Regions from separate parts of the Homo sapiens genome. Here all the other regions are linked to region 3. The links are contacts of gene promoters, found by promoter capture Hi-C in blood cells and fetal thymus (Javierre and others, 2016). All regions are on one chromosome and are shown on one strand. Each heading gives the region's core, a stretch centred on a gene start or on the middle of the fragment in contact. The rest is flanking DNA. Distances are from core to core; before and after follow the strand shown.

Region 1 (3,775 bases), core at 479-2,978, 2.6 Mb before region 3:
CAGATTGTGACTGTTTATGATAAATTGCAAGAAAAAGTGGAGCTCTTATCCCGGAAGCTAAACAGTGGAGGTGAGGCAAGACCCTGGAGGCCGGGAGTAGTGGAGGAGGAATAAGAATTCATTTTTGCATGCTAATTTGTAGTTTGCAAGCTTACATATTTATTTTTATTTATTTATTATTTACTTTTTAAGAGATAAGGTTTCACTGTGTCACCCAGGCTGGAACACAGTGGCACCATCATAGCCCATTGAATCCTCGAACTCAAGCAATCTTTCTGCCTCAGCTTCCGAATAGCTAGGACTATAGGCACGTACTACCACACCTGGCTAATATTTTAACCTTTTTGTAGAGAGGAAGTCTTGCTATGTTGCCCAGGCTGGTCTCAAACTTGGCCTCAAGAGATCCTCTCTTCTGGCCTCCCAAAGTGTTAGGATTACAGGCATGAGCCACTGTGCCTGGACTATATATTTTAATTAAATTTTTAGAAATTCTAACCTTCAGTGTTACTGGTAATGTCTTCATTATGGCATATTAATCTTTTATCAGTGCTTCTCATTTTGAGCCACATGACAGTCCTTTAATAAGCTGAGGAAAGAGTTTATCAGCTCTATACTGATATACTCTATTAATGACAGTTTTGTAAATAGCAGAATTAACTTTATTATTTAATAAACAGCTCTAATATCTGGATCTGTTTATCGTGTATGTAGGCTATTGATTTATAGTGATAATACTTTATTTTAAATAACAACTATATTATTTAATTATTAGTTACAGAATTTTGACTTGAAAAAGTTAATTTTTACTTAACTTATTTTTCATTATCGCTAATGTTTTTAAAAAGAGTTGGTGCAGGTTTTAGAGTTGACAGATGATCTGTATGGTTAAAAGGATTATTAGAAAATATTCTATGGATGAAAGAGTATTTGAAATAAAATAATTATTTGGGATAATTGTGTTACTCAGAGTTAATGCAAAAATTTAAATTTGTACAGTAAAGTATTTGTGTAGCTAGGTTACATCTTTAGTCATTTGTGGCATAAATACCTTGCTCAAATGCAAAAAAAATGCCTTGATTTCATGTTTTCAATAATAATCATGGTCTAGTTGTAATATCTTAATTTCCCTGCTTATCATTAAGATGTTTAACCTTTCATTTCTGAAGGAAATAAGTTGAATGTAATGGAGGTTGAACCATTGGATGAGCATATAAGAATTGTATTATTCTGTAATTTTGCTTTTAAGGGTAATTGGGCTAAGTTGTCAACAGAATTAAGCAGCTTGTAGAAGGCCTGTGAAAATTTGGTCACGGGTTTCTTTTGCTTTTCCATTAGATTATGCATTTCTGTATTTTATTATAAGGAAAACAGATACTTGTTTAAAAATATACAAGTCAGAAATACAAATAAGTAGACTACAAAAGTTTCCCCATTCTCATTTCTCAAAAGATAACCATTCTAAACAATGTGTTTTATGTCCTCTCAGACTTTTGTACTTTTGTATTAATATCTTACATCTACTTGCATGTCCCCAGCTAAACTGTGTCTTGGTTCAGTAGTTTGGCTCACTCTTCTTTGTTTCTCTAGTTTCTAGCACTGCATCTGGCATCTAGCAGATGTTTAGTCAATGGGGAATGAATGGATGTGAACCTCCCTGTCACCTAATATAAAATAATGGTGCTTTGTGTGTGCACATATGCTTCTTTCTCCTTGGGCTCTAATTGAATAGTTAGAAGGTATTGTTAAATTTTAGTAATATGGTAATTAATATGCCATGTGCATAGACTATGTTAAACTTGATTTCATAAATGAATATCAAGTGAAACAATTGTTTTATTTAAAAAGGGAATAAAATGAGTAGTATATCAAACGACTTTAAAATTACTATTTAATGGCATGCATTTTAAGGTCGGGTTTAAGTTAAAAAGTAGAAACATTACAAATAGCCATGCCATTATTTGTAACACAAAAGGCAATTGCCATTGGTAAGCTGAACTTTCTAAGAGATAAAGATGTATAAAGTATGAATTATAGCATCAGTTGTAACTTGTTTGAAAGTTCATCCCCCTGACTTAGACTGAAAATTGACATTCCTCAAATTCCTAGGACATCATCAATACAGTAGTTTCTACTTCCCCATTCCCTGTGGAATTTCTACCACGCCATTCCTCAATAACACTATACAGTCTTTTATATTTAGGGTAATTCATTATTTGGAGGTTTGGAGTTGTGTTGTGTTTTACAAAATCCCCTATGATATGATAGGCCTTCTAGAGTAAGGTAAGGCCTTCTAGAGCAAGTATAGGCCTTATAGAGTAAGGTCTATAAATTCATCTAACCCTGCCAGAGCGGCACTGTCTAACCTGCCACGGCAGTACTGTCTAACCGTGCCAGGGCGGCACTGTCTAACCCTTCCAGGGCGGCACTGTCTAACCCTTCCAGGGCGGCACTGTCTAACCCTGCCAGGGCGGCACTGTCTAACCTGCCAGAGCGGCACTGTCTAACCTGCCAGAGCGGCACTGTCTAACTCTGCCAGGGCGGCACTGTCTAACCTGCCAAGGCAGCACTGTCTAACCCTGCCAGGGTGGCACTGTCTAACCCTGCCACTGCAGTACTGTCCAACCCTGCCAGAGCGGAACTGTCTAACCTGCCAGGGCGGCACTGTCTAACCTGCCAGAGCGGCACTGTCTAACCCTGCCAGGGCGGCACTGTCTAACCTGCCAGGGCAGTACTGTCTGTTTGTTTGGTCTTTGATTCAAAAGAATTGCATTTATGGGCTTGTTTATAAATTCACTAAACATTTATTGAATTTTATTGTATTCTAGCCCTGTCCTCAGTGCTTAGGATATTGAGAGGACTAAAATTCAGTCTCTACTTCTTAACTCAGGTTATGAATCAGAATAACCTTGGGAGTTTTCTGAGCATATTCTTATTTTTGGCTTTGCCCATGGAGGTTCTTATTAAGTAGGTATGAGATAGGTCCTAGGGAAATGTCTATTTTAAAAGTTCCACAAGTGATTCTGATGGGCAAGCCTAGCTTGAAAACCATGAAAACCACCATATGACCAACCTGTTCTGTATTGATACTAAGAGTAATGCCAAGAGGTGATATGAGAAAGCATATTTTTCTTCCTGATAACTCTCTTTGATGGGTGGTATATATCCTGAGAGTATCTGGTTTCATTTAATTACATTTGGATTTCAGCTATAGTATTTGCAACTCTAATTTTAAACATACGAACTTGGTGTAATAAGTTCTATGGATTTACCTACCTGCTTTGTAAATAGTAGTGTACATTTTGGTTTTTAAGCTTCAGAAGTGCCCCTAACATAGTATTTCAGAATATATGATATGAGAATATGTGATAAGAGCATATGATTCTTGCTTTGTTATTCAGGCTGGTCTTGAACTCCTGGCCTCAAGTGATCGGCCTGCCTTGGCTTCCCAAGGTGCTAGGATTACAGCGTGAGCTGCTATACCTGGCCAAGGATACACAGTTTTAAAATTTGACACTATAGGCCAGGCACGGTGGCTCACACCTGTAATCCCAGCACTTTGGGAGGCTGAGGTGGGTGGATCACCTGAGGTCAGGAGTTTGAGACCAGCCTGTCCGACATGGTGAAACCCCATCTCTACTAAAAATACAAAAATCATCCGGGTGTGGTGGCATGTGCCTGTAATCCCAGCTACTCTGGAGGCTGAGGCAGGAGAATCGGCTCGAACCCTGGAGGCAGAGGTTGCAGTGAGCCGAGATCGCGCCACTGTACTCCAGCC
Region 2 (3,720 bases), core at 1,122-3,621, 2.7 Mb before region 3:
TTATAGGTATCTATCTAATAAAAGTTTATTTGTGTATGTGCAATGCATAACTCTATCTTAGATATGAATCCTAACAGGATGAAAATACTTTCTTGCAACTACTTTATGCTTATGAAAGGTGTGAACTTGCAATGTCCTCCTGTCTTAAACCCAAGTTGACAGTGCCCTCTCAAAACTTTTCATAAATAATGACCTAATTTCATTTAAAAAATGGTTTCAGCAAATATGAAAATAGAAAGTCCGTTATTTGTCCATTTGTAATATGAGAAAAAAAAAGATGATACATTCCTCTACAGAAAAAGTGGGTTTAGAGAACAGTTCTGGTAGTATTTCACATGGTAAAGTATCAAAAGATCTAATGAGCAGCCCCCTTGCTCAGGGAAAGACAGTGATTTCAATGTGTTTCTCTTCCGAATTGCTTAGTAACTCCAAGTGATTTTCAAATTGGGGGGCAGATTACTGGCACTGAGTTCATCAAATTTAGATCTATCTTGAATAGGGACATTATAGAAATCAAGAACATCTCTAACCCTGCACATCTGGTGGAGTCTGGAGTTAGGGACTACATGACCCAAGTCATCAGCTAAATGAGCCAGAAGATTGAACTTTAGACGACTATCTTCCAGGGAGATGTCTTGCCAATTACTAGGAAGAGATGAACCAAAAACTTCTTTAACGTAAGATTCCAAACGACTCTGGAGATCTTCAGGTGGTGTGTATGCTCGGCTTCGTAAAGGTGGACACACTAGGATAGGTTCCTTTTTCTCTTCTACTGTCTCAACAACCACTGGCTCTTTCTCTTTTCTGGAATGATCAAAAACAAACAGACAAATCCATTAATGAAGTTGACAAACACCAGACCAAATCTTGCCTACCAATCAAAATCAACAATGGCATGCTGATTACCACTGGGGACTACTGAGAGTAGGAAAGAATATGGTAGGCCCCTGCCCTTAGAACGTTCATGGTTGAACTGAGTTGGGAGAGACAGAAAGAAACTAAGTACATATTTTACATACTGTAAGAATTCCTAAGAATGGGTGAAGAAGTAAGGTAAATCATTGTCTGGGATTCCCCATCCTCCAAGATCCCACCCCAATCTACCTTTCTGGTCTTACCTTTCACTGATTACCTACATATACTCCATGTGATACTCTATATCCTGTGTCCCAAGCACACTCCCACTTTCCTGACACAATGTGTTGGCTCAAGTCATATCTTAAAATGCCTGTCTTTTATCTTCACCTATGGAAATCTTGCTTATTCTGTAAGTCTTAGGATAAAATTGTTCTCTTCCAAGATGCTTTACCTAATTTCCAGAATCAAATATAATTGTGATTTCATGTGATCTCTTCAGCAGTTTATACTGCTCTCAGAGTGTATCACATCCTACCTGACTTTTAATTTTACTTACATTCTACTTCACAGAAAGTGAAGAGATGGAAAAAGATATTCCATGCAAACAGAAACCAAAAAGAACAGGAGTAGCTATACTTATATCAGATAAAATAAATTTCAAGTCAAAAACTATAAGAGATAAAGAAGGTCATTACATAATCATAATGAGGTCAATTCAGCAAAAGCATATAACAATTATAAATATATATGCAACCAATATTGGAGAACCTAAACACATAACACAAATATTAATAGATCTAAAGGAAGAGATAGACTACAATACATTAATGGTTGTGGATTTCAACACCCACTCTCAATAACAGACAGATCATCCAGACAAAATCAACAAAGAAAGACTGGAATTACATTCTACACCAAATGGACTTGACACTTAGAGAACATTTCACCCAACTGCTGCAGAATACATATTCTTCTCATGAGTACATGGTACATTCTCCAGGGTAGACTGTATCATAGAACACAAAACAAGTTTTAACAAATTCATAAAACTCAAAATCATATCAAGGACTTTTCTAACGACAATGAAATATAACTAGAAATCAATAACAAGAACTCTAGAAACTATACAACTACATAAAAAATAACATGCTCCCAAATGACCAATGAGTCAATGATGAAATTAGGAAGGAAATTTTAAAACGTCTTGAAGCAATAAAAATGAAAACACAACACATCAAAACCTATGCGATACAGCAGAAGCAGTAGTAAGAGGGAAGCTTATAGTAATAAACATCTACATGAAAAAAGAAAAACTTCACATAAACAATCTAAAGATGTACCTTAAATTAGAAAAAGACAAACCAAATCCAAAATTAGTAGAAGGAAAGAAATAAGATCAGTGTAGAAATAAATAAAATAGACTAAAAAAGCAATAAAAAGATCAATGAATTAAAAAGTTGGTTTATTGAAAAGTTAAAATCAACAAACCTTTAGCTAGACTAAAAAAAACAGAGAAGACACAAATACATAAAATCAGAGGCAAAAAAGGAGATATTACACTGATATCACAAAAATTTAAAGGCTAATTAGAGATTGTTACAAGCAACTATAAGTCAATAGATTGGAAAACCTAGAAGAGATGGATTAATTCCTAGACACGGACAACTTACCAGGATTGAATCACGAAGAAAAAGAAAACCCAAACAGAAATAATGAGAAAGAGGCTGTAATAAAAGTCTCCCATCAAAGAAAAGCTTAAGACCTGATGGCTTCACTACTGAACTCTAGCAAGCATTTAAAGAAGAACTAATGCCAATCAATACGAATTCTACCACAGCTATTCCAAAACACTGAAGAGGAGAGAATACTTCCAAACACACTCTACAAGGCCAGCATTACCCTGAGGCCAAAACCAGACAAAGACAAAATAAAAAAGGAAAACACATTCTACAAGACCAGCATTACCCCGATACCAAAATCAGACAAAGACAAAATAAAAAAGGAAAACTACAGTTCAATATTCCTGATGAGCACAGATGCAAAAACCCTCAACAAAACATTAGCAAGCAGAATTAAACCACACATTAAAATGATCATTCACCATGATCAAGTGGGATTCATCCCAGAATGCAAGAATGGTTCAACATATGCAAATCAACAAATTCGATACATCACATTGATAGAATCAAGAACAAGAATCATGTGATCATTTCAATAGATGCTGAAAAAGCATTTCATACATTTCAACATCCTTTCATGATAAAAACTCTCAATAAACTGGATACTGAAGGAACATACCTCAACATAATAAAGGTCATGCATGACAAACCCACCAAACAAGGACACAAAACAAGCTAGCATCATTGAATGGGAAAAAACTCAAAGCCTTTCCTCTAAGATCTTGAACAAGACAAGGATGCTCACTTTCATCACTTGTATTCAACACAGAACTTGAAGTCCTAGCCACAGCAATTAGACAAGAGAAAGAAATAAAGTACATCAAAATTGAAAAGAAGTCAAATTGTTCTTATTTGATATATGATCTTACGTATCATACGTAAGATATATGATCTTATGTATCATACGTAAGATATATGATCTTATATATCTTGTTGATATATGATCTTGTATTTAGAAAAACCTAAATATCCACCAAAAAAACTCTTAGAAATTATAAATTCAGTAAAGTTTCAGAATACAAAAATCAACATACAAAATCAGTAGCATTTCCATATGCCAATAGTAAACAATCTGAAAAAGAAATCAAGAAATCAATTCCATTAACAATAGCCACACACACAAAAAATCTAGGAATAAACTTCAACAAAGAAGTAAAAGGTCTCTACAATAAAAACTATAAAA
Region 3 (3,763 bases), core at 1,173-3,672:
ACTCAGACTCCACTAGCTGCCAGATTTCTGCTTGAAACACTGCCCGCTAGCGTTGAAGCTTTCAAACGATTTTAATCCATGGTGATGAAGCAAGAACAGTGTTTTCTGTACACTGCATCTACCCTATACTCTCTGTTTCTACCCCTCACATCTCCAAATTAGGGGGCTTCACTGGCTTTGTGCCTTGGTTTTTTCCACTCACCTGTGTGATCTCAGGAGGCAGAGTTTCAAGTTAGTCATCAGTGATTTCCTCAAGTCCATTTGTCTTATATTTAGCAGCAATTCCTTAGTGCTTCTGGCACGCAATAAGACTAAAACTGAGAGATCTCCACCTTTATAAGCATTTTTCATTTTAATCAATGGTCTTAATGGGAGTAGTTAGATCTGCACATTCTTCTAACCACCCAGGAGTCCTTATCCAACAACAGTGCACTTGTGTATGTTTTCATCCATGTGACGTAAGTGTATCAGCTAGTTGTTAAAGTGCAAAGACTAACAGTCTGTCTTAACACATATTTCCATACCAAAAAATCACTTTATTTCACAACGTGACAAAGTCCACATTAGGATTTGTTGGCAAATTAAAATTCTTTACTCACAAAATGATAAAAGGAAGGAGACACAGCTCAAAGTTAATGTGTAAGAGTTAACAGAATCAATACAAGTGAATAGCTGTGGAGCCCAGGGGATGCAGGAATCAAGGCAGACAAAGATATCTGTTGAATTAAATTAATGTTAGGTCACTACCCATGGTTGACATCACAGAAGTGGATAAGCATACCAGAGTAAACAAAGGAATCCTTTCTTAAACAAAAAACCCATACAACTTATTTTACTCCCTTATCGAGAAATATTTTCAAAATATAAGCCCATTCCTGGTAGGTTAAGACCAATTCAGATGACTGCATTGCCATTCCAGGGCCAAGAAAGCAACTTTAAAAACATGACCTACGCTATGGTCTAAATGTGTCCCTCAAAATGCACATTTTGAAATCCTAACTCCCGAACTGACGGTTTTAGCAAGTGGCATCTTGGGAAGTGAGGAATGGGATTAAGGTCCTTATAAAATAGGCCCAAGCGAGGGCCTCTGCCTCTCCACCATGCGAGGACAGAGCCAGAAGGTGCTATCCACTAAAGAGAAAGCACCCCTCCCTAGACACACCTTATTCTGTGACATTCCAGCCTTCAGAAATGTGAAGAATAAACTTCTGTGGTTCATAAACTACCCAGTCTAGGATATTTTGTTATGGAAGCCCAAAAGGATCAAGCCATTCCAAAATAGCATTGTTGCCCACACCATCTTTTTGAACCTCACTTAGGGTAACACCATACCCATTCGGAGTTAAGCCCTTCCTAACTCTTAAGTATCAACGTGCTTGGAAACGTGAGCAATCCTGACACGTTTTTTCTTCCTAAAGAACAATACATACTAATAATAGGATCGGCTAATAATACTAGATTCTATGCATGAAGCCTAGTATTTAAAAGCATGCAATCTGGAGCTAGACCGCCTGGGAACAAATCCCAGCTTACTAGACAAGCTGTTTAACCTTTTACTTGGTCTCATTTAACTCATTTGTAAAACGAGGGCAATTTCTGATTTCATAGGGTTGCTACGTGGATTTTAAAAAGCCCCTTGCAATATAGCCTAATATTCAGAACTCAATAACATGAACTGTCTTAAAAGGTTTCCAGAAAAAATCCCCAACAGGTTAGGTCGGCTTATCATTACAACGCTTTCCGGTATAAGGGAGATGAATAGCTATTTAGCACCACACAATTTCTCCTCTGGGCTCGGAACAGCTCTCGGTAGACTACGATCCCTTTCCGACGTGGAAACTTCAGATAAAAACGCTCCCCGAGGTCCGAGGCCAGTACGGGGCGGAGCCAGGACGCGGGCCAGAGTCCCCCGAAGGACGGTGCCTCTCTGGCCCCAAGAAGTACAGCTTTTATTTTGCAGCAATCTGAGCCAACCCGAGAAGATTCTGAAGCTTCCAAAACAGAACCGACGAGAACACTCATAGAATGCCTCTCCACTTCCTAACTGTCGCTTTGAGGAGAGAAAAGTAAGCCACAGCCAGCACCGCAGACTGGAGAAGGCGGAGTCTGCAGTGTGCCTAACGCGAACTAGAGGGACCGAGGCGGGGCGGGGCTGGCGAAGCGCGAGGACCCGGGGCCGAGGTGTGGGGCTGACCATAGAGTGCCGGACGCCGGTGTGAACATACACTATCTGCTCCTGTAGTGCCCAGGCCCCTGCCGGGGAGTCCCCGGAGCTACCATTATCGAGACTCTCATTCTATTGCCCTGCGGCTTTAATCCTTCGAGTGTAGGGGAAAAATTGAACCCTAAAGACAGGCAGCTCCTAGGCACCAGCACAGGAAATAAGCAATGGAGGTGGGGTCCTTTGCTCGCGCCGAAATTCAAAGGAATAAATAGTTCCGGCGCGGGTGTTGAGAGCGGTGTGGCAGGTGTTGTAGCCGCTATGGTGAAGTTCGCTTTGTAGCGGCCCCGGCTAGAGAGTTGTTCTGTTCCCTGCCTTTGTGACCCGGAGGAGCTTTTGGGGTGCGTCAAGCCCCTGGCCTGAGGCAGCGGTGAGGCGTGTGCGTGAGCACGGCCGGTTGGGCCGGGCCAGACTTCCTGGCGGGAGGCGGGAGGCGGGAGGCGGGGCGCGGGGCGCGGGGGCTGTAGGGAGGGGGACCAGTGGCAGAGGGACCTTAGGTGATCCTTAGAAATAAAGGCTAGCTTCTGTTCGACCTTGGAGTAGGGCGAAGAGGTGTAGACAGGCCTGGAGAAGCGAGGTAAAAGCCTGAGTAAAAGCAAGAAGTTGGAGAATATGAGATACATCTCATCTCTAGTAAATACTTAAATGACTTCCCCTCCTCCCGGAGTCAAGCACAATTCGGGGATGCAATGACGGACGTAGGTGAAGACACTGCGGGAACTTACAGACAAGTAATGACCGTCTAATATCAGCTTTAAGTACCATGAAGGAAAAAGAAAGCCGAGTGAAGGATTGTGGAGAGGTGACATAGGGAGGTCAGGGAGGACTCCAGTAAGGTGACATTTGAGCAAAGACGTGAGTGCAGTAGAGAGTAAGCTATGTCAGTATCAGAGAAAAGCACATTATAGGCAAAGATAATGGGATATGTAATAATCCATAGTCTTTGTTTAGGTAGAGTATGATAAAAGTAGAAGGCAAGCCTGGAAAAACGGGTAGAAGAAATAGTTAAGACTTCCCAGTTGAATGGTTTAATTTCCAGATAGTGGCTAACTCTGGTATATTTTTGAGTAGATGAACGATGTCTTTACATCAGACAAGATAGTTTGTCAAGTGGCTGTTTTATTTCTATCACCCTATCGTTGCTGTTTTTGCCTCGTGTTCATTATGATTCCAGGTTTACATTCCACTTAGGTGGTGGTATTTCTGTTTCGTACAGAACTGGTTTGTGGCCTGTTTGATTCCTGTCAGAGGTTTGCTGACCCAAGACAGTATCGAAAATGCATATTAAGTCAATTATTCTAGAGGGATTCAAGTCCTATGCTCAGAGGACCGAAGTCAATGGTTTTGACCCCCTCTTCAATGCTATCACTGGCTTAAATGGTAGTGGGAAATCCAACATATTGGACTCCATCTGCTTTTTGCTGGGCATCTCCAACCTGTCTCAGGTAAAGTGTAAACTTTCTGATTTATTTGAATTTAAGTTGGCAGGAGAATCCTCACTGAACTTTGGAGACGTCCCGATATTCTCTTCATTTGTGTTTT
Region 4 (3,539 bases), core at 359-2,858, 2.6 Mb before region 3:
CTGAAGGAGATTTTAAGTGATTGTATTACCTTTATACCGTGAAATACTACAAAGCCATTAAAATGTATATATGAATACACACTACAGACATACAGACATACACACACATACAGGTGAGGAAAAGGGTGCAGGTAAAGAAACTAAGTTACAAAACAACTTGCATGTTATCCCTTTTTTGTAACACTGGATGTATGCTTCAATGTAAAGAGAAGATAAATTCACCAAAATATTAACTATGGTGATCATCTCAGAGTGGTGGAATTACAGAATTTTTTTTGAGACTGAGTCTTGCTCTATCGCCCAGGCTGGAATGCAGTGGCATGATCTCGGCTCACTGCAACCTCCGTCTCCCAGGTTCAAGCAATTCTCCTGCCTCAGCCTCCTGAGTAGCTGGGATTACAGGCGCGCACTACCACGCCCGGCTAATTTTTGTATGTTTTAGTAGAGACAGGGTTTCACGATGTTGGCTGGGCTGGTCTCAAATTCCTGACCTCAAGTGATCTGCCCGCCTTGGCCTCCTAAATTGCTGCAATTACAGGCATGAGCCACTGCGCCTGGCCAAGGAATTACAGATTTTTAAAAAATTATTTACAGTTTTCTGTATTGCAGTGGTTCTCAACTTAGTACATTAACAACCTATGAAAAATCTGAATGCTCAGCCCACTCTAGACAAATTAAGTCAGAACTACTGGAAGTGAACCCAGGTTCTAGTAATTTTTTAAATTACCCAGATGATTCAATGTGCAATCAAGCTTGAGAATGAGTATATTGTTTGAATGCTTTACAATCAGTGATCATGTTATAAAGCAGAAAGAAGGGAGAGCCAGAAGAAGTTATCTTCATTTTGCTAATTTATGTGCAGTGTGCATGTGTGTATACTGTGTATGCAGTGTGCATGTGTGGCGGTTGCAGACAAACTAAGGCTAAAGCTGGTAAAAATCCAAAGGAACACAGTAAAGTCACCTAGTTGATCATGAAATCTGGTCAGAAAAACCTGGCTTTGTTTCTTTGTTCTAATACTTCCTGGCTATGTGACCTTAAGCAGCTCACTTCACCTGTTTGAATGTCCATTTTCTTTTCTAGTAAGAGTAAAAGGGAAATTCTATTCCCATAGAATTGTAGGATTCAGTGTCATATTGCATGAACAAGGGCTATGTAAGTTGCTAGTTATAATATGTGGTGGAGTAAAGAAGTAGAAAAGAAAGCAGGAGAAATAACTGAGCACTGAAAGACAAAATATTAACATTCCAGGAATGTTAATATTTTTTGTTTCTCCTGAATGCTTTATTTCCCTAACAAACATAGTTGCTGAGGGCCCGCTTTGCACCAGACACCATTTTAAGGGATAGAAGAGAAAACCTAATGACAGTCTGATTGCCGTCAAGAGGCTCACATGTGAAAGGGAATGAGGAGCTGCAACAAATAGCACAATGCGGTAAGTACTGTAAAGACGTGTGCCCAAGGCAGTAAGAGGCGCCAGTGCCTCTTTCAGAGAAGGGGAGGCAAGACTTGTGAAGCCTACAGAGAGCTAAGATCAGGAAATACTGGCTACATGCTTTGTTCTCTAGGGGGAGCTCAAGGCTTTCTCCTTTGATATCTGAATGGAATCAGTACTTCCAGTGAGAAGGGTGTATGTAGATAGATAAGTTGAACTGTGTTAGGATAAATGCTCCAATGCCACTTGATCTTGGAGTTCTTTCTTGTTAGGTATTTTCTATTGAATGGCGTCTTCCTTTGCTCCCGTGAAGCTGGTTCTATGGAAAGACATTGGGTTATCCCTCCCAGTTAAAAATGTTGCTCCCTCCACTTAGAAGACTAAGGAAGAACCAGAGTGAAGGAAGCCCCATGGGCAGGAAGAGGACTCATTTGGGCTCAAGACATTCAGTCCAACCTAGCTCACAAGGATGGATGAGATCATGATTCGGGACCATAACTTGTCACTTGTGCACATACTCTAAACGGTGGCGTTTTTCAAGGTATTGAAAGGAGGTGGCAGGATAGGATTAAGAAATTTGATCCAGACAGGCTTATCAAATTCACTACAACCAACAGATGGTTCTAGATTTTTTTTTTTTCATTAATGTTTCATGACTATGTGCTCTCGATTTGAAGTTTCAAGGTCCTCTTGAAGTTTTTTTTGTTTGTTTTTTTAGACAGGGTCTTGCTCTGTCACCCAGTGCAGTGGTGTGATCATCATGGCTCAATGCAGCCTCTTACTCCTGGGCTCAAGTGATCCTCCCACTTCAGCCTCCCAAAGCATTGGGATTACAAGCATGAGCCACACACACCTGGCTCAGAGTCCTCTTGAATCTGGCAAAAACTTGATTTGGAATTTTCTAAAATTTCTCTTATTTGTTGTAGCAACTGTATTTCATGGGAAGATATTTCTCTGATAGATCGATGCTCTTCTTTTTTATCTCTTTGTATCACCTATAAATGCTCCCATTTGCACACTCTTAAAGAAGTAAGCTTAGGATAGTTTCTTTTTTTTTTTTTTTTAGACGGAGTCTCGCTCTGTCGCCCAGGCTGGAGTGCAGTGGCGGGATCTCGGCTCACTGCAAGCCCCGCCTCCCGGGTTCACGCCATTCTCCTGCCTCAGCCTCCCAAGTAGCTGGGACTACAGGCGCCCGCCACTACGCCCGGCTAATTTTTTGTATTTTTAGTAGAGACGGGGTTTCACCGTTTTAGCCGGGATGGTCTCGATCTCCTGACCTCGTGATCCGCCCGCCTCGGCCTCCCAAAGTGCTGGGATTACAGGCGTGAGCCACCGCGCCCGGCCAGGATAGTTTCTGATTGCCTCACATGGAAAGTTAAAATGTAATCTCTCAGAGTTTTTGTGATGTCTAAATGAAGGCTATATAGACAATTTTGATTTTTAAGTTGTTTTTCTTTGTTACTTCGGGTATCAAACTGGGGATAGTGTGGAAACCACCAGTTCCTGAGGTAGTTGTGGCTAGGAAATTCACTTGTATACTAAAGAGCTTCATTTTTTTGTTTGCTGTGTAATTAGAAAGTAACTGGGTCTATGCCTTTATTCTTTGCATGGCAAGGTTTGCCTTGTTAGATACCAGACAAGGTAGCACCCCGGATATTTGCCAGGCATATTTATCCTTGTCAAAGGCACATTGGCAGTAAATGACACTGAAGGATCCTGCTTGGTATGACTTCGGTTATCAAGTAAACTGTTGCAGAGTTGTTGGGGGGATCCAGATATACCCCCATATCATCTCTTGCTTCACCTCATCTCTGACCCTAGCCCCTGAGTAAATAGGTGGGTTCTGCTGGGGTCCACTTCTTGGTTAGCTGTTCCTTCTTCTGACTGAGTTGTAATAGATAGGACTGGCCACTTTTTCAAACTAATCTCATCTGTATTGTATCTTGCAAAAATTCCCCTGTCTGTAGCATGTGACTGACCCTTTTCATTGATTTCTAGCACAGTATAGTGTTCTTCGTACTTTTATCTTTCGTGGCTGATAGAGGGAATCTAACCGTTTGCCGTAGAGGAGATTAGATAAGACTGCTGATGTCAATATTGTGCT
Region 5 (3,486 bases), core at 956-3,455, 2.5 Mb before region 3:
ACCACCATTTGTTGAATAGGGTGTCCCTTCCCACTTTATGTTTTTGTTTGGTTTGTCAAAGATCAGTTGACTACGTATTTGGCTTTATTTCTGGGTTCTCTATTCTGTTACATTGGTTTACATGCCTATTTTTATACCAGTACCATGCTGTTTTTGTGACTATGGCTTTATAGTATAGGTTGAAGTCAGGTAATGTGATGCCTCCAGATTTGTTCATTTTGCTTAGTCTTGCTTTGGCTATGTATGCTCTTTTTTGGTTCCATATGCGTTTTAGGATTGTTTGTTCTAGTTCCGTGAAGAATGATGTTGGTATTTTGATGGGAATTGCATTTCATTTGTAGATTGCTTTTGGCAGTATGGTCATTTTCACAATATTGATTCTACCCATCCACGAGCATGGGATGTGTTTCCATTTGTTTGTGTCATCTGTGATTTCTTTCAGCAGTGTTTTGTAATTTTTCTTGTCGAGGTCTTTCACGTTCTTGGTTAAGTATATTCCTAAGTATTTTATTTTATTTTTTTTGCAGCTGTTGTCAAAGGGTTTGAGTTCTTGATATGATTCTCAGTTTGGTTGCTGTTGGTGTATAGCAGAGCTCTGATTTGTGTACATTAATTTTGTATAGTGAAGCTTTGCTGAATTCATTTACCAGTTCTAGCACCTTTCTGGATGAGTCTTTAGGGTTTTCTAGGTATATGATAATGTAATCAGCAAACAGTGACAGTTTGACTTCCTCATTACCAATTTGGATGCCTTTTATTTCTTTCTCTTGTCTGATTGCTCTGGCTAGGACTTCCAGTGCCATGTTGAATGGAAGTGGTGAGAGTGGCATCTGTGTCTTGTTCCAGTTCTCAGGGGGAATGCTTTCAACTTTTCCTTGTTCAGTATAATGTTGGCTGTGGGATTGTCATAGATGGCTTTTATTACCTTAAGGTATGTCCCTTCTATGCTGATTTTGCTAGAGTTTTAATCATAAAAGGATGCTGGATTTTGTCAAATGCTTTTTCTGCATCTATTGAGATGATCATGTGATTTTTTAAAAATTCTGTTTATATGGTGTATCAGATTTATTGACTTGTGGATGTCAAACCATCCCTGTATCCCTGGTGTGAGACCCACTTGATCATGGTGGACTATCTTTTTGATATGCTTTTTGAAGGCAGTGTGAGAAACTGTTAGAATGGTTACCTCTACATATTGGGATGAGTTGTGGGTGAGGTTAGGAGGTGGGTGTTTGTGATTTTACTTTTTACACTTTAATATTGTTTGATTCTACTTTGTGCATTAATTTCAAAAAAGACTCTTTTAGAATGTCTAGCCATTCTGAAGGAAATACTCTTGGACTTTTGTTTGAGTTCTAATTTATATGTTATAGTATGAATTGCCAGGTTTTAAGCATTAGCATGCATTCTCTATTTTTGGCAATTTGGAAAAGAATCTTTTCAGTCATTTTTCAGACTCTTACTGAATCTTCCACAATATTTTATATTAAAAGTAAAGCTTTCAGTTATCATAGTCTTGATGTATTTTGAAGGGTTCATGGGCAAAATCAGTAATAGTTTGAGATTTCTAACATACTGTATTTTGTGGGCTTATAGATTAACAGAATAGTTTTTTTTCTTTTTTTAATCTTTTCATTTGTGTTAAAATCTGATTTTCTGTTCAAAGGTTGATGCCCAGCTACAGGTAGTAAGGAAACTGGAAGAGAAGGAGCATCTGTTACAGAGCAACATTGGCACAGGGGAGAAAGAGCTGGGTCTTAGGACCCAAGCCTTAGAGATGAATAAACGCAAGGTATGATTGATTAATCTAATGATGGTTAGTCTCAGTGGAACAAATAAGTATAACACTGTTGAGATTGTAAGTTCGCTTTATTCCTTCAACTTGGGCTAACATTTTGCCTCACTGGCAATAATAGGTGATACAATGGTGTCACTTATTTGTACATCCTACATAGGCAATGGAGGCAGCCCAGCTTGCAGATGACCTCAAAGCACAACTGGAGTTGGCTCAGAAGAAGCTACATGATTTTCAGGATGAGATCGTGGAGAACAGTGTTACCAAAGAAAAGGACATGTTCAATTTCAAACGAGCCCAGGTAAAAGCAGTTGTCTTTTCTTGTCACCTTTTAGGTGTTTTCTGAGGTCGGAAGTGACCCATATCATGAAAGAATCATTAGTCCAATGTATGTCATTTCCTACTAGACTTGAGGAAGTTTGTTGAGGGAAGAGAGTAAGTCTGTTTTCTTCACTGCCATATCCTCAGACTCTTTTATGGTGCCTTGCACCTAGTAGGCACAAAATAAATATTTGTTAAATTAATGAATTAGTAAATTGTTAAAGAAGTAACAGCATAGCAGCAGTAGAGGATTTTCAAGTTCTTGTATAATGTCTCTATTTTTGTCATGCTAGCTGTTTCTCATGATGTCTTTCTGTCTTTATCCGTAAGTCTCTGAATTATTTTAAACCGTTCTACCTTCAGCTTAAAACTAATTACTATAAAACAAAATAGACTGTCCTCTAAACTCTTAGATGTGTTTTCACAGGACTGAATTGGTAATAGATGCAATTCTAATTTGGGGATATAATTATGGTTGCCTCTTCTGAAACAAAAGAAAATATCCTGCCATTTGCAGTTCTCTACATTTCTACAAGATAATTGACCATAAAAGGATAGAAAGTCCCCTCTTTTCACAACAGAAAACTCAAGTCTATTATTTTTCTCAAAAATGATAGATTTGGGTAAGTGTGTCTAATGGGTATGCTATCCTGCCACAGGAGGACATCTCTAGACTTCGCAGGAAGCTGGAGACCACAAAGAAACCAGACAATGTACCCAAGTGTGATGAGATTCTGATGGAAGAGATTAAGGATTACAAGGTTAGAAAAAATGCCTTAGTGATTAGTTTTTTGTCAAAGCTTTAAGTGGCCTAATAGACTGGGAGAATAATTTGCATGATAGTAACCAGAGAATGGTTTATTTTGGAGGTTGGGGGGAAATGATGCTCTTTTTTTAGTGCCTTGTGGGTTTTCTTCTTGGTTGTGTAGTATATGAGAGCCATTTGGATCATAAACTTTCATGGTTGTTCAAACTCTGACATCTTTTCTTTTTAGGCACGCTTGACCTGTCCGTGCTGTAACATGCGTAAAAAGGATGCTGTTCTTACTAAGTGTTTTCATGTCTTCTGCTTTGAGTGTGTGAAGACACGCTATGACACCCGCCAGCGCAAATGTCCCAAGTGTAATGCTGCTTTTGGTGCCAATGATTTTCATCGCATCTACATTGGTTGATCTAAGTCAAGAGAAGAAGAGGAGCTGGCTAGTCAGGAACTTATTCATTAACCACCAAACCTCTACCTCTTCTCTCCTTGACTGTCACCTGTAGGACAGTTTATCAGTCAACTACCTTTCCTCCAGACTTTACTTCCAGGCTCTCCTCTTCAGTAGCTGGATGACTTTAGCAGAAAGGACTGGTAAATACAAGCCTTG
Region 6 (3,721 bases), core at 1,007-3,506, 2.7 Mb before region 3:
CTACCCTGTTTTCCTTGATAGACTGATTAATCCCACCTTGACTTTATTTGTTTCTTTGTTTGCCCATCTTACTTTGTTTCTCCTTGCTTCAAAGACCTTGGTTGATCTTTGTATTTCCTTTTTATTATTCCAGATGTTTTGAACAGAGATAAGGATGAGGAGCCAACTGTAAAACAAGAGATTGAAGAAATTGAGGAAGAAGTGGAACCACAGGGTGTAATAGTTACAAGAATCAAAAGTGAAATTGACCAGGATCCTATGGGTAGAGAAACATTTGAACTTGTTGGTAGGTTAGATAAACAAAGAGGGATCTTCCTATGGGAAATACCAAGGGAATCTTTGACCCAGGAACAGAGAATGTTCAGAGAAAACACTAACATTATCCGTAAAAGACCAAACTCAGAAGAGAAATGCCATAAATGTGAAGAATGTGGAAAGGGTTTTGTCCGCAAGGCCCATTTCATTCAACATCAAAGGGTCCATACTGGTGAGAAACCTTTTCAGTGCAATGAATGTGGGAAAAGTTTTAGTCGCAGTTCATTTGTTATTGAACATCAGAGAATTCACACTGGGGAAAGGCCCTATGAGTGTAATTACTGTGGAAAAACCTTTAGTGTGAGCTCAACCCTTATTAGACATCAGAGAATCCACACTGGAGAAAGACCCTATCAGTGTAATCAGTGTAAACAGAGCTTCAGCCAGAGAAGGAGCCTTGTTAAACATCAAAGGATTCATACAGGTGAGAAACCCCATAAATGTAGTGACTGTGGGAAAGCCTTCAGTTGGAAATCACACCTTATTGAGCATCAAAGAACTCACACTGGTGAGAAACCTTATCACTGTACCAAATGTAAGAAGAGCTTTAGTCGAAATTCATTGCTTGTTGAGCATCAAAGAATTCACACTGGGGAAAGACCCCATAAATGTGGTGAATGTGGGAAAGCCTTTCGATTAAGCACATACCTTATACAACACCAAAAAATTCACACTGGCGAGAAGCCTTTTCTTTGTATTGAGTGTGGAAAAAGTTTCAGTCGGAGCTCATTCCTTATTGAACATCAGAGGATCCATACTGGTGAAAGACCTTATCAGTGCAAAGAGTGTGGGAAAAGTTTCAGTCAGCTTTGCAACCTTACTCGTCATCAGAGAATTCACACAGGAGACAAGCCCCATAAATGTGAGGAATGTGGAAAAGCCTTTAGTAGAAGCTCAGGTCTTATTCAGCATCAGAGAATTCACACCAGGGAGAAGACTTATCCATACAATGAAACTAAGGAAAGTTTTGATCCAAATTGCAGTCTTGTTATACAGCAGGAAGTCTACCCTAAGGAGAAATCTTATAAATGTGATGAATGTGGGAAAACTTTTAGTGTTAGTGCTCATCTTGTACAACATCAAAGAATCCACACTGGTGAAAAGCCCTATCTATGTACTGTCTGTGGGAAAAGCTTCAGCCGGAGCTCATTTCTTATTGAACATCAGAGAATCCACACTGGTGAGAGACCCTATCTGTGCAGACAGTGTGGAAAAAGCTTTAGTCAGCTTTGTAATCTTATTCGACATCAGGGTGTTCACACAGGTAATAAACCCCATAAATGTGATGAATGTGGAAAGGCCTTTAGCCGGAACTCGGGTCTTATTCAGCATCAGAGAATACACACAGGAGAGAAACCTTATAAGTGTGAGAAGTGCGACAAAAGTTTCAGTCAACAGCGCAGTCTTGTCAACCATCAGAAGATCCATGCAGAGGTGAAAACCCAAGAAACCCATGAATGTGACGCTTGTGGTGAAGCCTTTAATTGCCGTATTTCTCTTATTCAGCATCAGAAATTGCACACAGCATGGATGCAATAAATGTAGAGCAATACATAAGCTCAATTTGATTTGAGACTAGTACCCAAGTGCAGTTTTAGTATGGCTCAACATGGGTCAGATTTAGTGATAAAGCAAATTCTCCTTGGCCTCAGGCAAATAGTTTCTAAAGATTCTGTGAATAGTGGACAACTGCCCATGAGCATTTGACTTCCCTTACTCTTTGATGATCGTAGAGAAAGACTTGGTAATTTATCTAAGTATCTTTAATAAATCTTTCAGCAGAGAGATTAAACCTAGGTTCAGAGCATGGGTGCTCTGAGGGACAAAGTTGGATTAGTATAAGGGAGCTGGAGCAGCTGATAGTGGAAAACAGAATAATGATTCAAAGAGTCTTCTGTCACCATGTCATATTGTGGTTCTTTCAGTTCCATGATATGTTTGGCTCTGCATGCCAAAGTCCAGTGATTAAGCATATATAAGTTGTCAAGGAAACAAAGCCCAAATGTTTTTAAAACAAGTATACAGTTTTTGTCATTGTTTAAGAAAGCCAGTTGTTTGGCATGTGAGTTAAAGGCAGTTCCAATGCCTGATGGTTCCCAGATCTATGAAATGAGTGGACCATTAACCTTACATGTAAAGATTATGTTAGTAATTAAGAAACCTAACAAAGGTGTTACCAAGGAACCTTTGGGAGTGCCTTTTTTGTTTTTCAAGATGGACCCAAAAAAGTGGAGGAAGATATTGTTCTTTTGTGCCCTCCTACCTGTGAGAGATATTTGTAGTCCTATGTGAATGAGCTTATCCCTCCACAACCAGGTGCATATGAAAGTGTACATATTATGACTGCCAAGTATTGGAAATGAAAAGACCTGGAGTCTATGCTAGGAAGCTGAGATATTTTGGTATTGCATTGGTTTTTATGGTAACTAGGTTTTGCATGCAATTAAAAATCCTTATTTCTTGTTCTAGGGCTTCCCTTAGTTAATGGTTATTATAAACCTATTAATTCATCTGTTTTAACCATTAAAACCTGTTTTGTTTTTAGCTTTGTGTAAGAGTTGTTACTTTAGTGTAAAACCAATTCTGTCAAACGCATTACTGTGTTTTTAAAATTAGAATCAAAAATAGGAAGGAAATAGCTGTCATTTGTTCTGTGTGTGACTAGTTAAGCTTTTCTGGAGTAGCTCAATTAAGCCCAGGTTCTTCAGTTTCTGAGTATAGAATTCCAAATTAGCAGAATTCTGTAATTCCAGCTTCCTAATAGTTTGAGCAAATGACCCCTCCTTCTCCTGTACCTCAGTCATTCCAAAAATTACCTCCAGACTTTCATCTTCCCATCTCTTTATGTGTGTACCTGCATGTGAGTGTGGAGATTATGGTACATGTATAGAAAGATACATATCTTTGTGCACTCCCTTATTCAAATTAGGTACTCATAGTTACTATACAGTTGACATTTCAAAACAATTTGTAGTCCAAGGAAAAGTACAAAAAACAACATACTGCACCTGACTCATATAAAATTTTCCTGCCCTGGACCTTCCCAGTTGTACTTATTTTACACTAGTGGTTCCCAGATCAGGATCTCAACTAATGAGGTTCTTAGACCTGTTCTCAGTATTTTAAAAATCTATTGTGTATGTTTTCACTGCATGTACACTGAAACACATTTCTTTGCTTTTTGTTGAAGTCACATCAGTTTCATGTACGGTTATATTCCATAGCAGAAGCACTGGCTGCTGTTGACCTCATAGTAGTTTGAGGCTATGGTTGTATGAGGTAGTCCTACATAATTTTTAATATCCTTGGACATGAATCTGGAATTTATAGAAATTTCTTAATTTTAAAATCCTTGGACAACTCAGAACTCCAGTAACAGTGAACAGTTCTTGACTGCATATACACA
Region 7 (3,439 bases), core at 277-2,776, 2.6 Mb before region 3:
TTTTTTTTGGATTTCCTTGCATTGGGCTTCGCCTTTCTCTGGTCCCTCCCTGATTAGCTTAATAACTAACCTCCTGAATTCTTTTTCAGGTAAATCAGGAATTTATTCTTGGTTTGGATCCATTGCTGGTGAACTAGTGTGATTTTTTGGGGGTGTTGAAGAGCCTTGTTTTGTCATATTACCAGGGTTGGTTTTCTGGTTTCTTCTCATTTGGGTAGGCTCTGTCAGAGGCAAGGTCTAGGGTGGAAGGCTATTGTTCAGATTCTTTTGTCTCATGGGGTGTTCCCTTGATGTAGTACTCTCCCCCTTTTCCTATGGATGTGGCTTCCTACAAGCCGAACTGCAGTGATTGTTATCTCTCTTCTGGGTCTAGGCACCCAGCGAGTCTACCCAGCTCCGGGCTGGTACTGGGGGTTGTCTGCACAAGAGTGCTGTGATGTGAACTGTCTATGGGTCTCTCAGTCATGGACACTAGCGCCTTTTCTGGTGGAGGTTGGGGGGCGGGTGTGCAATGGACTCCGTGAGGGTCCTTAGCACACTAGATCAGTGGAGTTATGTACCTATGAGGATTATGGATGCCTCTGCTGAGTCATGCAGGTTGTCAGGTAAGTGGCGGTAAGCTGGCAGTCACAGGCTTCACCCAGCTCCCATGCAAACCGAAGGGCTGGTCTCACTCCCACTGTGTCCTCTGCCAACAGCCCCAGTCTGTTTCCAGGTGGAGGGCTATATGGCTTGAAAACCGGCCCCAGGCTATCTACCTCCCAGCTGCGAAAGAAAAGGGCTTCGTTCCTTCTCAGCCTGTGAGTCTGCACACCAGATTTGCCCTGCCCTGAGTTCTGGCCACGAGGCTTCTCACCCCATTCAAATTGTTACAAAATTCAGCTAGAGATTTCTTTCTCCCTGTGGAGTTTTAGCCCCTGCTCCTCTGTCTACTCTCCCGATGGATCCCTGTGGTGCCAGCCAGGAATGGGCTGCTGGGGGACCCCGTGAGCTCCCAGGGCCTTACTGCTGCTTCCTCTACCCCTGTATTTCACTTGGCTAACTTGACTCAGCTCCAGGTAAAGTCAAAAACTTCTTCCACAAACAGACTTTCAGCTTCTTCAGTGAGGGTATGTGTTCAGGAGAAGAGGGCCTCCCTTTCTTACTTCCACAGTTGGGGCACTCACAGTTTTAGGGGGCTCTCCTGGGTCCTGCAGGAGTAGTCCGCTTCCTTCAGAGGGTCTGTGGGTCCTCTCGGGATTGCTGGTTTGTTCTTGTAGTCGATCTGGAGCTAAAATTCATAATGCGAGCTCCCACACGCTGCTCTGTCCGGAGCGGCAATCTAGTCCTGCCTCCCATCTGCCCTGATGATTGCTATCTCCAGTCCTTCGTTCATGAGCACTTGGGTTGATTCCATGTCTTTGCTATTGTGAATTGTGTACCAGTGAATATACGAGTGCATGTCTTTTTGGTAGAACAATTTGTTTTCCTTTGGGTAGATTCCCAGTAATGGGATTGCTGGGTCAAATAGTAGTTGTTTTTTAAGTTCTTTGAGAAATCTCCAAACTGCTTTCTAAAGTAAGCCCTCTCTTTAAATAGCTAGGTTTGTGCTTGCTATTTAGTTTACATATTAAACCCCCTTCATATTTATTTACACGTAAATAGCTGAAATATTTCATTTAGAGAATAGAGTGAATAGGAGATGAGGAAGCAGAGACTACAAGTGGAGACAATTTGTGTACGTCTAAAATTGGTAATACGTTGGTTTTAAATGTTTTTTTTTTCCTATGAAAATAAATGTTGGCGGGCGCAGTGGCTCATGCCTGTAATCTCAGCACTTGGGGAGGCCGAGGTGGGCAGATTGCCTGATGTCGGGAGTTCGAGACCAGCCTGGCCAACATGGCGAAACCCTGTCTCTACTAAAAATACAAAAATTAGCCAGGTGTGGTGACAGGTGCCTGTAATCTCAGCTACTCAGGAAGCTAAGGAAGAGAGAATCACTTGAACCCGAGAGGCGGAGCTTGCAGTGAGACAAGATTGCGCCATTGCACTCCAGCCTCGGCAACAGAGCGTCTCAAAAAAAAAAAAAAAAAAAAAAGAGAGAGAGAGAGAGAAAATAAATGTTATGCATATATTCCTGAAACCGACTTATCCCATTCAACAACATATTCTTATATTTCAGTGTTAAGAAATACAAATCTATATCACAACTTTAATGACTACATAGAATTCTATATTCGAGGACATTTCATGATTTATACAAATTGATTCTAAAAATTTTAAGTAATAAATAATGCTATGTTAAACATTTTTGTACAGTCATATTTAAACAAGTATGTGATTCTATTTTTTTCAAGCATATAATCAAACCTGGAATAGCTGAATCATTGGGTATGACATAGTTTAGGCTTTTGGTACAAATTGACATTTATTTATAAAAGGACAGTTTTCATAAGAAGAAAAAAATACAAAACAAGATGTTCAGTACTTCACATATTTTAGCATTTAACAGCTTGAAGCAACACATCTCCTTGCTGTTCTTCTAAATGTTAAGATCACATTTCAAACACACTGATCTAATTAGCCTTGGCCATCACTCTGTTGTAAGTGGCTACCCACATAATTATTAGATTATTAATAAAAGCAAGCACAAATAAGAAAAAGAGAAAGGGAATAGTCTTCAAGGTTAACTGAATATTTGAAATGTCAATGTAATGTCAAAATTTGCTGCATGGTTTGGACATAGTCCATTAAAAGTATCTTTCTCCCTGTACTATTGAAATCTCTATTACCCTGGCATCCAGTACTTTTATTTTTTTAAATTTATTTTTATTATTTATTTTTGGGATGGCGTCTGACTCTCTCGCCCAGGCTGGAGAGCAGTGGCATGATCTTGGATCACTGCAACCTCTGCCTCCTGGGTTCAAGTGATTCTCCTGCCTCAGCCTCCCAAGTAGCTGAGACTACAGGTATGCGCCACCATGCCTGGCTAATTTTGTGTATTTAGTAGAGATGGGGTTTCACCATGTTGGCCAGGCTGCTCTTGAACTCCTGACGTCAGGTGATCCACCCACCTTGACCTTCCCAACTCCTGGAATTACAGGCATGAGCCACTGCGCCTGGCCCCAGTTACTTTCAAAACCTTATTCAAGTACATGATGCAAATGAATCCAGCTTCTAGGGTGGTTCATAAATTGTAATTTCAAGGTTTAGTTCAATAAGTGAAGCATAATGACTTATTCCATTTTTCCAAAGTAAATGGTACCAACCAGAACTATGCTTGGGAGGAAGAACAGGGAAGGGATATCAGGAAATCCTGAACTTCCTTCCACCTCTTCCAAATTAACTCATGTGTCTCCTGTTTTATAAATGCCTTTGGGAGGAGATACTACCATCATCCTGCAATAAAGATGAAGCTTGAATTCACTATATATCAGCATGTGCATATTTAAGATCAGTG

The links. Contacts are between HindIII fragments. The CHiCAGO score rates a contact against its expected background, and 5 or more counts as called.
Region 1: a contact is called between a fragment that was not itself captured here and the fragment with the promoter of SMC2 in region 3, in 1 of 17 cell types (M0 macrophages). The highest score is 5.4, in M0 macrophages.
Region 2: a fragment that was not itself captured here is called in contact with the fragment with the promoter of SMC2 in region 3 in 4 of 17 cell types (total B cells, total CD4 T cells, non-activated CD4 T cells and 1 more); the score reaches 6.8 in total B cells.
Region 4: a contact is called between a fragment that was not itself captured here and the fragment with the promoter of SMC2 in region 3, in 1 of 17 cell types (total CD4 T cells). The highest score is 5.1, in total CD4 T cells.
Region 5: a contact is called between a fragment that was not itself captured here and the fragment with the promoter of SMC2 in region 3, in 1 of 17 cell types (non-activated CD4 T cells). The highest score is 15.7, in non-activated CD4 T cells.
Region 6: a contact is called between a fragment that was not itself captured here and the fragment with the promoter of SMC2 in region 3, in 1 of 17 cell types (activated CD4 T cells). The highest score is 5.1, in activated CD4 T cells.
Region 7: a contact is called between a fragment that was not itself captured here and the fragment with the promoter of SMC2 in region 3, in 1 of 17 cell types (total B cells). The highest score is 5.1, in total B cells.

What each region holds. Positions count from the first base shown.
Region 1 is chr9:101,540,906-101,544,680 of GRCh38, forward strand. RNF20 (ring finger protein 20) reads left to right here. Exons shown (of 20, transcript NM_019592.7): 5 at 1-70. Among named protein-coding and RNA genes, the nearest start is that of RNF20, 8.9 kb to the left of the region's middle. The HindIII fragment of the contact is 3,161 bases long and covers 149-3,309 here.
Region 2 is chr9:101,390,047-101,393,766 of GRCh38, forward strand. MRPL50 (mitochondrial ribosomal protein L50) reads right to left here. Exons shown (of 2, transcript NM_019051.3): 2 at 1-804. The coding sequence ends at 420. Among named protein-coding and RNA genes, the nearest start is that of MRPL50, 6.7 kb to the right of the region's middle. The HindIII fragment of the contact is 477 bases long and covers 2,134-2,610 here.
Region 3 is chr9:104,091,887-104,095,649 of GRCh38, forward strand. SMC2 (structural maintenance of chromosomes 2) reads left to right here and starts at 2,423. Exons shown (of 25, transcript NM_006444.3): 1 at 2,423-2,591; 2 at 3,438-3,666. The coding sequence starts at 3,499. SMC2-DT (SMC2 divergent transcript) reads right to left here and starts at 588. Exons shown (of 3, transcript NR_121580.1): 1 at 203-588. RefSeq lists enhancers at 1,706-2,375, 1,838-2,157, 2,376-3,043. The HindIII fragment of the contact is 5,032 bases long and covers 1,990-3,763 here.
Region 4 is chr9:101,457,636-101,461,174 of GRCh38, forward strand. LOC105376184 (a long non-coding RNA gene) reads left to right here. Exons shown (of 4, transcript XR_001746862.2): 4 at 1,306-1,454. Among named protein-coding and RNA genes, the nearest start is that of TMEM246-AS1, 9.0 kb to the right of the region's middle. The HindIII fragment of the contact is 1,717 bases long and covers 751-2,467 here.
Region 5 is chr9:101,559,135-101,562,620 of GRCh38, forward strand. RNF20 (ring finger protein 20) reads left to right here. Exons shown (of 20, transcript NM_019592.7): 17 at 1,667-1,792; 18 at 1,956-2,096; 19 at 2,776-2,877; 20 at 3,112-3,486. The coding sequence ends at 3,288. Among named protein-coding and RNA genes, the nearest start is that of RNF20, 27 kb to the left of the region's middle. The HindIII fragment of the contact is 1,418 bases long and covers 1,497-2,914 here.
Region 6 is chr9:101,407,796-101,411,516 of GRCh38, forward strand. ZNF189 (zinc finger protein 189) reads left to right here. Exons shown (of 3, transcript NM_003452.4): 3 at 134-2,859. The coding sequence ends at 1,854. Among named protein-coding and RNA genes, the nearest start is that of ZNF189, 11 kb to the left of the region's middle. RefSeq lists an enhancer at 1-1,048. The HindIII fragment of the contact is 1,453 bases long and covers 1,531-2,983 here.
Region 7 is chr9:101,523,645-101,527,083 of GRCh38, forward strand. It overlaps a transcript of PGAP4 not described here. Among named protein-coding and RNA genes, the nearest start is that of RNF20, 8.5 kb to the right of the region's middle. RefSeq lists an enhancer at 721-1,220. The HindIII fragment of the contact is 3,734 bases long and covers 1-3,393 here.